2 separate regions of the Homo sapiens genome follow, and region 2 is linked to region 1. Evidence: promoter capture Hi-C in human tissues and cell types (Jung and others, 2019). All regions are on one chromosome and are shown on one strand. The core of a region is centred on a gene start or on the middle of the fragment in contact, and the rest is flanking DNA. Distances in the headings are between cores, read along the strand shown. Region 1 holds the start of ASAH2B (N-acylsphingosine amidohydrolase 2B). Region 2 overlaps SGMS1 (sphingomyelin synthase 1).

What was found. The method cuts DNA at HindIII sites, captures the fragments that hold promoters and counts their contacts. A contact is called where the count stands out against the background at its distance.
Region 2: a contact is called between a fragment that was not itself captured here and the fragment with the promoter of ASAH2B in region 1, in 1 of the 25 tissues and cell types used here (mesenchymal stem cells).

What each region holds. Positions count from the first base shown.
Region 1 is chr10:50,736,596-50,741,890 of GRCh38, reverse strand. It overlaps ASAH2B (N-acylsphingosine amidohydrolase 2B), which reads right to left and starts at 1,955. Exons shown (of 6, transcript NM_001321958.2): 1 at 1,908-1,955. The HindIII fragment of the contact is 7,213 bases long and covers 1-5,295 here.
Region 2 is chr10:50,601,498-50,606,792 of GRCh38, reverse strand. All of the region lies in intron 1 of SGMS1 (sphingomyelin synthase 1), which reads left to right. Among named protein-coding and RNA genes, the nearest start is that of SGMS1, 20 kb to the left of the region's middle. The HindIII fragment of the contact is 7,249 bases long and covers 1-5,295 here.

The DNA of each region.
Region 1 (5,295 bases), core at 706-3,205:
TTCCAATTCATTTTCTACACTGCCATCTATTGACCTTTCTAAATCACAAAATTTTATCAAAGCATTCTCTTGCTTAGAATCCTACTGCAGTTCCCCCAAAGCCTTCCTTACTGAGTGAAGGCTCAGTAGCATAGCATGCAAGACTATCCATCAGCTAACCTGTGTCTCCCACTCTGGCTACCATCTCCTTACCATCACCCTCCGCATACTTACTCCATGCTACTCAACTAATTGTGGTCCATCAATGTGCCTGCCCTCTGGACCTTTGCATATATCGTTTCTTCTATATAGGATACATTCTTACTTTTTATTTGCTTAACTCTCACTTGTTGTCAAGAACTCATACAGATGTTACATCTTCCTGAACAGTCCCAGTACTCAAATACCCAGTCTGGGCTGGTGCTCTTTCTCTTTATTTTTATAACACCTTGTGCATGCCTTTCATGAAAATGTAATCATCTGTTCTCTTTTCTGTCTTCCTACTAGACCCCCGGCTTCCAGTGATCTTGAGGGAAGGGACAGATTCTTTTCATCATTATGCCCCAGAAAGTGGCTAGCACAGTATCTGTCACAATACATCTGTTGAATGAATGAAGTAATTAATAGCAATACTTGCCGGAGTATATCCCTGTGATATGGACAGGAGACAGGAAAATACTGGGTAGAAGAGAGTGGTTCCCTGGCAAAGGCCCCACCCTTAAGCCTGGAAACCTGTGGCCCTAAACAAATGTTCTTAAAGAAACTGAAAAAATGAATTTTTAATTAATTTCATTCTAACTCTAAACAGTCACATGTCGCTACCATACTGGACAGCTCAGACCTAGGTATCAACTGGACTAATGAAGTGGTTTCCTAACTTAAACTTAAATTGTAATAAAAAATTTAAAACGTTTTTATGAACTTCCAATAGGATCGCAGTATTACTTTTAGTACCTGTCACCTCTGTAAAACTCCTGAATTATAACTCATCTACACACATTTGAAAAACAGCAGTATCTGTATGTGTGAGATATGACTGGTTCTAAATGATGCCTGGAGACCCCATGGACTTACAGAGACCCTTCCAGTGATTTCTGAGGTACCTGGGAATCTGTGGCCAATAAATTGGTAATCACTGAATTAGTGAGTTTTTTAAGAATATCAGGCTGCATAAAATCTGACAGCTTGATTGAAAAAAAGCGGGAAAGGGTGCCATTTCATTCAATTAAGGTCCTGTATTAATTCCGTTTAATAAATGTTTGGTCTATCTATGATGTGCTAGCCACTGTGCCAGTGAATGGATATAGCTATGATCTGACTTGCAGAGGAAATCCAAACTAGTACCTTCCGTGCAATAAGGGATACACTGCAAGGCTGCACAGGGTGCTACTGGAGCACAGAAGTGAGTCAGAGGCTTCCCACAGACACACAACACGAGCGGAAACAGAAAGTCTTTATATATCACCATAACGTCAAGGAACACCGGCTGGGAGTTAGGAGAGCTGGGCACTAGGAACGCTTTGAAACTGAATAGCTGTGGGATTTCCGAGGTTATGTTGCTTCTCTACTATATTTTAGTTCCGAAGCTGTACTAATGTTTCTCTTTCTTTTGCTCTTGGTGGGAAAAGCACAATTTGGGGTCAACAGATTCGGCTCAGGTCCGAGTCGCCTGCTGGGACCACGTCGCCAGGAAACGACGTCTCCCGGACACCTTCCCTCCCCGTCAGGCTCTCTGCAGGGATTCACCCCGTTCCCTCTCCCAACGACTCCCGGGCACGCCTCCGTTAAAGGTGAAATATGCTGCTCCTGGGGAGCAAAGATAACCCGGAGGACCAGGGAAGGACCTTCCCACGCGCACGACTCGCGATCTTCCCAGTGCCCCAGAGCCAGGGACCCCACTGCCGCCTACCCCAGCCGCAGCACCGAACCTGTTCACAATTGCGACTCCTCAGGTCCGCTTCCACACCGCCGGAAACGGAAATTCACCGTCGCGCCGACTCGCGGGGAGGGAAACAAAAAGGCAGAAAAAAGAGACCGGCGCCTGGACGACTTCCAGGGGAGAGCTGGAAGACTAGTCAACAGCTGTGTGCGGGCGCCGGCGCCGTCTGCGCAGTGCGTTCCACCGGGTCCGCATCCCTCCCGATTCCGCCCCACCCTGCCCTCGGAATCCGCTGCCTCAACTCCCGCGGTGGGACTCCGGAGCAGCGTACACCGCCCTCGCCTTAGTCCTCCGCGAAGGCCAGGGCAGCTGTGCGGCCTGCCGCGGATTAGTTGGTGCGGTGCAAAAGCCAGAAGGAGACACATTTGGTCCTGGCCACCCCGGAGTCACCGTGCCCGGGACAAATGGACTATGGCTCGACTGGGAGTCGACTTCCTTCTCTTTAAAGATGACAGATGAGGGAGATCTCAGGTTCTGGGGGTGCCCTAAAGCCCTCTTTTGGCAGGAAGCGGTGGCTCATGCCTGTAATCCCAGCCCTTTGGGAGGCTGAGGCGGGAGGATCGCTTGAGCCCAGGAGTTCAAGACCAGCCTGGGCAACTTAGGGAGATACCCCCGCCCACCGTCTCGCAGGAAAAAAAAGAAAGGAAGAAAATTAGCCAGGCACGGTGGCTCACGCCTGTAATCCCAGTATTTTGGGAGTCCAAGGCAGGAGGATTGCTTGAGCCCAGCAGTTCAAGACCAGCCTGGGCAACACAGGGAGGCTACCTCTCTCTCAATCAATCAATCAATCAATCAATGCCAGCGTCGTGGCGGGCGCCTGTGGTCCCTGTGGTCCCAGCTACTCTGGAGGCTGAGGCGGAACGATCGCTTGAGCCTTGGAGGCGGAGGTTGCAGTGAGCTGAGATCGAGCCACTGCACTCCAGCCTGGGCGACAGAGCAAGACACTGTCTCAAAGAAAAATAAATAAATAAAATAAGGCCCTCTTTTTCCAGGACCAACAGACTCTGATGGCAGGGACAAACTGACCCAGCCTAAACTGCCTCGCCTTCCCTGCTCCCGGGAAAGGGGCTTTCCCTGAGGGAAGGTAGCATCTTGCCATTTTCTTCCTGCACAGCTTTGCCTTCCCAGGGATCGGCCCATTGCCACCTGAGGAAATGCCTTGGAGTCCATCTAACCCACAGCCCAGGTACTTGGGACGCCTACAGAGCCTACATTGTCAGAGGATGCATCTTCTTCTAGTCTTGGAGGGGTTCCTTTCAATAAGATCCCACCAGTGCACTCAAGGCTCAATTCTACACCAAAAAACTAGGCCCACTCCTGTCACCGAGACCCCCAGGCTTCAGGTCCTGTCACAGTGACCTTGTTTTCGCCCCCAGCAGCCCCCAGGTATTCACTCTGCATAGGCTATATACTGGGTGCTAAACAAGAGAGGCTACCCACGTGGTGCATGCTTCCCTTATCTGTGAAGAGCTTAGGATGTTGTAACTTCTTCACACTATGCCTCTTACTTCATGGAGATGTCAGTATCCGGGTAGATAATCCTTCCAACATCCTTTTGATCTCATGAAGCCCACTCCTGTCCTCTGCCCTACCTCAGCTTCCCCCTCCCTCCATGATCAGACCTTAGACCTTGTCAGGTCCAAGGACTGCAAACCCCACAGTAGCCCACTCTGACCACCACCTCCTAGCTATCCAGGTTACTCCCTATACTGCCCTGAAACAAAATTCTTGCAACCTTACCAGTACCTCCAATCCAGATCTTACTACCTTTTCACTGTTTCTTCCTTCCTTTATGACTTTTCCCTCTCTAGTGAGCGAGCTTAAACTCCATGGCCAACCATTCTCATTGGTCCCTTGCACACCTCCTCAACTCACCCACCTCCCTGTCACCTCCTATCTGCTTAGTAAGATGGGAGCCCTGGATAAACTCAGCTCTCCATCTATTCCATGCCACAACGATGCAACTAAACATGGCTGGAAGAAAACAGGACCATGCCAGCAGTCCTCACTTTAATCATTCTTTTTCCGGTCTATTCAATCTCCCATTGTTCCAAATGAGTATTTCGCACTTCTTCCTCTCTGTTCAGTCCTTCCTACTGCCTCCCCCTTCCTTGCCTCCTGAAAAAAGAAGGGAAAAAAGACCTTTTGAAAAAAGAAGGGATAGGTGTCCACAACTCAGTGTGAAGTGTTTAAAAAAGAGCCACACAAGCACGAAGAAAGCCAGAAGTGAGTAACCTGCAGAAAAGTAGGTAAAGGTTCTGATCTGGATCCAGATGAGAAATGGAATAGCAAGTTAAAATCAGGAAATATTTTGAAGAAGATAAATGTTCCTGGATATCTTTGAATACTTGGTAAATTATTAAGTTCTTATATATAATAAAGCAAGATTGTAGGTTTGTCTTTTTATTCAGGTATTTGAGGAAAATGTGTCTCCAAGGACTATTGAAATCTGAGACATATGTTGTGGGTACATTAAGGAGAAAGTATAGTAGTGTTTAAGAATTTAAAAATATATTTAGGTCTCATCTTGTAAGTCAGCCCTTCTCCTTACATTAACTATATGACTCCTTCATAGTGGATTATTATTCCATCCAAAATTTCCTATTTCAAAAGCCACATTTGGTTCATGCAGATATGAAAAGATGCCATAGTAGGAGAAAAAAGTTTGGAGATGATTAAGATGCAAACAGGAGTATTTAGTAATACTTTAGTAAGCTTATACGAATATGATAAAATACAGTTTTAATTTGGCTTCTAAGTATACTTTATTCTAGACATTATAAATCACCATCACTTGAGAGAAAAAAAGAGAGCCAGAGATGAATATATACTTTCCAACATAATGTAAAGGCATAGTAGCATCCTCAACATGACGTATGCTGTGCTCCTAAATATTAAGGATAAGATGCTAAAATTTGTCTTTATCCCCATGTTTTGGGTTCTAAAATATTAGATGTAGAAAAAAAGTAAAAAGAAACCACTCTAAGACAAGGAATTTTATTTTCGTAAAACATCCATATCCACATAATTTGTAGGCAGTTTCCTAAATGGCTTTCAGTGATCCCCTTTTCTTAATATTCATATCCTGTCCTTTCAGCTTGATAGTTGGCTTGAGATTAATCACACTTGAGCTTAATCACTTCCAAGTCTAGATGACAAAAGCCTTTGACTTTTTTCTTGCACATTCTTTTTTGCCTTCTTATTTATTAGCCCTGTTGAAGCTGCTTCCATGTTGTGAGATGCTTTATGGGTAACATCCATGTGGTAAAACAGTGAAGTAGGCCTCTTGCCAACCACCAATTAAGAATAACCATGGAGGAACTGAGTCCCACCAACAGCTACTTGAGTCACTATGAAAGTGGACTCATCACTGATTG
Region 2 (5,295 bases), core at 1,050-3,549, 140 kb after region 1:
AAATATAATGCCTTGTTCATATCACTGACGTCATGCTGTTGTGATGTTTACTTACACGGTGATGCAATCATTGATCATACATCAGTTCAAGGATGCCAGAAGTGACATTTGAAGAATGCATCCTGCTCTTTAGCTTTCCAGACTGAGACTGAAGGTCAGATTTTCGCCAAGTGTGGAAGCTGAAGACAACTTTGGTAGATTCTTAAATATGCATAGAAATATATGTTGTATTTTTATAGTTTTAAAATATTTCTACTATTCCAAATCTATACTTTAAACAAGTACAAACATCTTTTTTGATTATAGTAAAATACACATACACAAAATGTACCATTTTAACAATTTTTAAGTATACAGTTCAGTGGCATTAAGTACCTTCAAATTGTTGTGCAACCATCTCCACCATCCATCTCCAGAATGACTTCCTCATCCCAAGCTGAAACTCTATGCCCATGAAACAATCATTCCCATTGTTTCTTACCCCTAGCCCCTGGAAAACCACTGTTCTACTTTCTGTATATGCGAATTTGACTATGTACCTCATATAAGTGGAACTATTTAGTATTTGGCTTGATTTACTTAGCATAATGTTTTCAGAGTTCACGCATATTGTAGCATGTGTCAGAATTTCCTTCCTTTTTAATATTCCATGGTATGGATATACCACATTTTGTTTATCCATTCATCTGTCATTGGACACTTGGGTTACTTCTATCTTTTGCTGTTGTGGTTAGTGCTGCTGTGAACACAGGTGTACAAATATTTGTTCAAGACAAACATCTTTCAAGAGACTCTTTTTAAAAGAAAATAAGGTGTCTCTTAAAATATGTTCCTTGTCATGAATGTAGAGAGTGGAACAATAGATAATGGAGACTCAGAAGGGTGAAGGGGTTGAAGTGGGGAGGATGAGGAGAAATTGGTTAATGAGTATGATGTATATTATTTGAGGGATGGATACCCTAAAAGCCCTGACCTGACCACTATGCAATCTATGCATGTAACAAAATTGCAGATGTACCCCATACATTTGTATAAATAAAAAGGAAAATAAAAATATGTGCCTTCTTGTGATCAGTTTTATTAGAGGGTGCCTTATCACTGTGTGGTCAAGGAAATTCTGCCTTTACAGTTATAAACACACCCACCACTTTGAACAGTGTTTAGTTGAAGGTATTAGTACTGCCTGAGGTCAAGAGTGTGGTTTCACAATACTTCAGAGCAGTCTCACCAGCAAACTTGGCAGCAACCTTGAGCAAGTCCTGTCAGGGTTGTTGGAAAACAGCCGGTGTTTTCATATCTTTTGCTCTGATAGCTCTTACTTGTCAGTACCTTAGGAGGGAAAATCTGGCAGTAGTGTTTGGTTCCTTAGTTCACTCTGAGCTGGTTAAATGCTCACTGGATATGCAGATATGATTTATTTCAGTGGTATGCTTCTCTGTGAGCCTGTCTCACTGTGGCAGCTCTGGAATTTCTGTTTATGGATGACATTCTGTTTGGAAGTGGGGCTGAGGTTCTGAGCTACAGGCTGTGTTTGCACAGCAAGCTCCCTTGATTTTAATTTGTATTTTTTCCCAAATCTGGGTGGTAGGGGAGGCCCAATGGAGAATATAGAGCAGTATGCTCCCCACTGACTCCATGCAGTGGTCCGGGGTTTTGTGGTGCCTGGGCATCTTGCAGTGACATGTCTGTAGGTGCTTTTTTGTGGAGATGTAGGAAATTGAAATTAGCTTCCAGCTTTGTAGTAACAGAAGTGAAATGTTTTGTACCGTTATAGGCCTGATAAAAATCAAATGTGACTAACTGGTGGTTTTAAACAATGCCAGTCAAATCTGTTTGTTTACATTGCTCACATTTTCTAAAGGCACATGATCTATCTGAAGATGGAGGCTTATCGGTGAGTTTACTGACAGCATTGTGTATTGTGTTATATTTATATTTCTTGTATGATCTTTTTAGTCATTTTTTTGGAGTCTGTCTTGGTCTTTTTACTGATGGGTGTATGTGTAGATTTATAGGGATAAATAATCTTTCTTCTTTTTTGTGGAGTTGATCAATCGAGGACTTTTTAAGTCCTTGATTTAAATAGGTGACCTCTGGAACAAAGTAAACACACATGTTTAATACTTAGTCATATAATTTATACATTTGGCAATCAGTCAAATACTCCATTCCAAAGAATAACCTTGAAACTGTTTGAATAAATTTTTTATTTCAGCATGCAAGATGTAATCAAAGAAATGTGTCTCTGGGAAAAAAGATAATTGCGGTTCTTTTGTGCCGTTAAAATTTCAAGTGCAGTGAGCTAACCTGGCACTGTATCAGACGTCTAGGCAAATAATTGCCTGTTTGCTGTTGGAGTCTGTTATATGTTGTGCATTTTTGGTGGCTCTCTACAGTTCTGGTTCTCTTATCTTCCTAATAGTTCTTCTTTAGACACCGTCCCTGGAACCTCTGCTTGGGTTGCACATGTAAATTTCACCGACGGTTCAGCCCTGGTGGTGAGCAGCCTGTTACGTGCAGGCTCATGTGGGGGACCAGTTTGCTTTCTTTTGGGTGGGGTGTCAGGTTTATGAGGGTCCAGCTGGTGGAGGGCTCTGATTATGTGGTTTTGACTCAGCAGTTTCCTTACTGTCTGAGAGCTGTCATCAGAGCTTAGACTGTGCAGGAGGAAGTGATAGAAAAGCAAAGTGTACAGTGCCGTTTTTGCACTGAGGCCCCTATTTTAGGAATAAACTCTAGGGGTCAGAAATGTTGACGTTTAGATTAAATCTGACTTTTCTCATTTTCTGATCTATATTTTGTTTCCAGAATGGTTAATGTAACTCCTACTAGAATAAACAATGGCATGTATTTCAAGTTTAATGTTATTCTACATTTTTGAAAATTTAGTAAATAATAAAATCTTAACCTGTTTATGTATGCTCTAGCTTGTCCTGCCCCTCTGTCTACATGTGGAAGATAAATTTTGTACACTCTTCACAGTCACAAGTGTTTAAAGATACATAACATTAGAAAGTGATTTTACCAATTCTTTTTCTTTTCACAGGTTTGTTGCTGACTACAACATTAAGGTCCCTTCAGAGGTTAAGGCTGTTCAATTTAAAACAATCATGCAGTGTTTCTTTGATGACTGCAGTGTGTTGTGCAATTTAGTTTTTTACCCCTCAATTTTTTTGTTGCCTTGAGTTACCATTTGGAGGTACGGTTTTTGATACTGTATCTCAAGACTGTGATTTCTTGGATTTTGTGTGTGTGTGTTTTTTAAATTTACTGAATTTACTACTAGAGACTGCTTTCTCTGTGTAAGATCCACTCCTTTGTGGGAGCCCAGAAGTTTACGATAAGTAAGAGAAGGAGTATCAGATAGTGAGAGGTGTGCATCATGGTTAAATGAAAACAAAACCAAGGTGTTTGACTCTCGGCAGAGAGAGATTTGGAAGCTAGCTCTGTTACCCACGGTTCAGCCCTGGTGGTGCGCAGCCTGGGCTCCGGCCTCTCACCAGCAATGGAACCAATGGATGTTGAGGAAATTACTTAAGTTGTTTGAATCTTAACTTCCTCATCTGTAAAAAGCTCATCCTACAGGTTTATTAGGGGATCATGTTTGTAAGACCCCAGCACACTGTAGATGTAGAATAAAATGGTAGTGGTTATTATTAGGGCTTCCTCTTCAGAGGCAAAAGGTTTTAGAATGTGGTTATGTTTTTCTGGTATTTTATTTTATCATTTAACATTGCAGAGGATAAGGAGTTGGAAATGAAGACAGCCTAGACTGGCTGAGAACCTCATTGTGTTGCTGAATTGAATTCCATTGTCTAAACTCGTTCATTTTCACCTTTTCTCCTGATTGTTTTGTCTGCTGTGGAGCATGATGTTAAAAACAAAATAGATCACTGTAAAATTTTCTCTATCCTGGCACTTTGGAAATAAGTTAGTCTGACAAAGCAGTTCTTTCCACAGAGAGTAGAGGCTTTATGTTTATTTTCTTCTCATTACAAATTTTTTTATTGTTAAAATATTTTAAATGTTCAGGAACCTACTGAGAATAATACAATAAATGCATATATATCCAGCTTCCAGTTTTATCAAATGTTAACTTTTTGATGTGTTTGCTTTATGTATGTGTGCATATTTATTTATTTAGAAAAATAAACATCACATTTTCAGTGTAAGTTCAGGGACCTTGCTGTCTCAGTCATTGCCCTCTCATGCCTAGGAGAGTGCCTGATAAGTGTTTAGTAGGCAGGCTCCAAATAAACACTGTGCATCTTCTCCAGTAGCCTTCTTCTCCCTTCTTCCCCTGATATAACACACAAAAAGATATTGAACAGGGAGAAGTATCATGCTTGGTTCAGCCAGTGACACAAGTGTTAGTTAAATAAGGACTGAGTTAAATAAGGACTACCCTGAAAGAACTTTAAATGCTATGACATAAGGTAGGACAGGTGAATTCAGAAGTAGCTCCTGTGGGAAGCAGAACATTCTCCCTGCATTTGCAGAGCCACAGAGTGGCTGGTTATTGGAAGTAGGCATTGGAATGAACTTGAAGAAGCAGAGATGGGGCAGGGTTTTCTAGGCTGACAGGATCATTGATTGACAGCTCAGCAGTGGGAACAGTGTTTGGAGAGATTAAAACAAGGTGATTCAGAGTTACCTGAACTCTGTTATCAGAGGCGAGTATCAGGAGAAGAATAAAGTGTCCAGAGAATGGGTATTGGTTGAGCATCCCAAATCTGAAAATCCCAAATCTGCAATGCTCCAAAATCCAAAACTTTTTGAGCACTAATATGACTCCACAAGTGGAAAATTTCACACCTGACCTCATGTGATGGGTTGCAGTCAAAACACAGTCAAAACTTTGTTGCATGCACAATGTTATTAAAAATATCGCATATAAAATTACCTTCAGGCTATATGTAGAAGGTGGATAGGAGACATAAATGAATTTAATGGGTAGACTTGGGTCCCATTCCCAAAATATCTCATTAGGTATATGCAAATAATCCAAAATCACAAAAATTCCTGAAATCCAAAATACTTCTGGTTCCAAGCATTCTGGAAAGAGGGTATCCAACCTGTACTACATCTGATGAGTAGTGTTAGGCCCTTACTTAATGGAGCACAATAGCATGCTAGAAGAAGAGCTGATGCTGTGGAAGCAGACCATCTTGGATTAAAATTTAATTCCTCTTTTATTGGCTGCAAGGCCTAGGGTAAGCCACTTAACCTTTCTGAGCTTCAGTTCTCATGTCAGGTATGTTCTCACTTTGGCTACAAGAGGTTAAGAATGTGGAA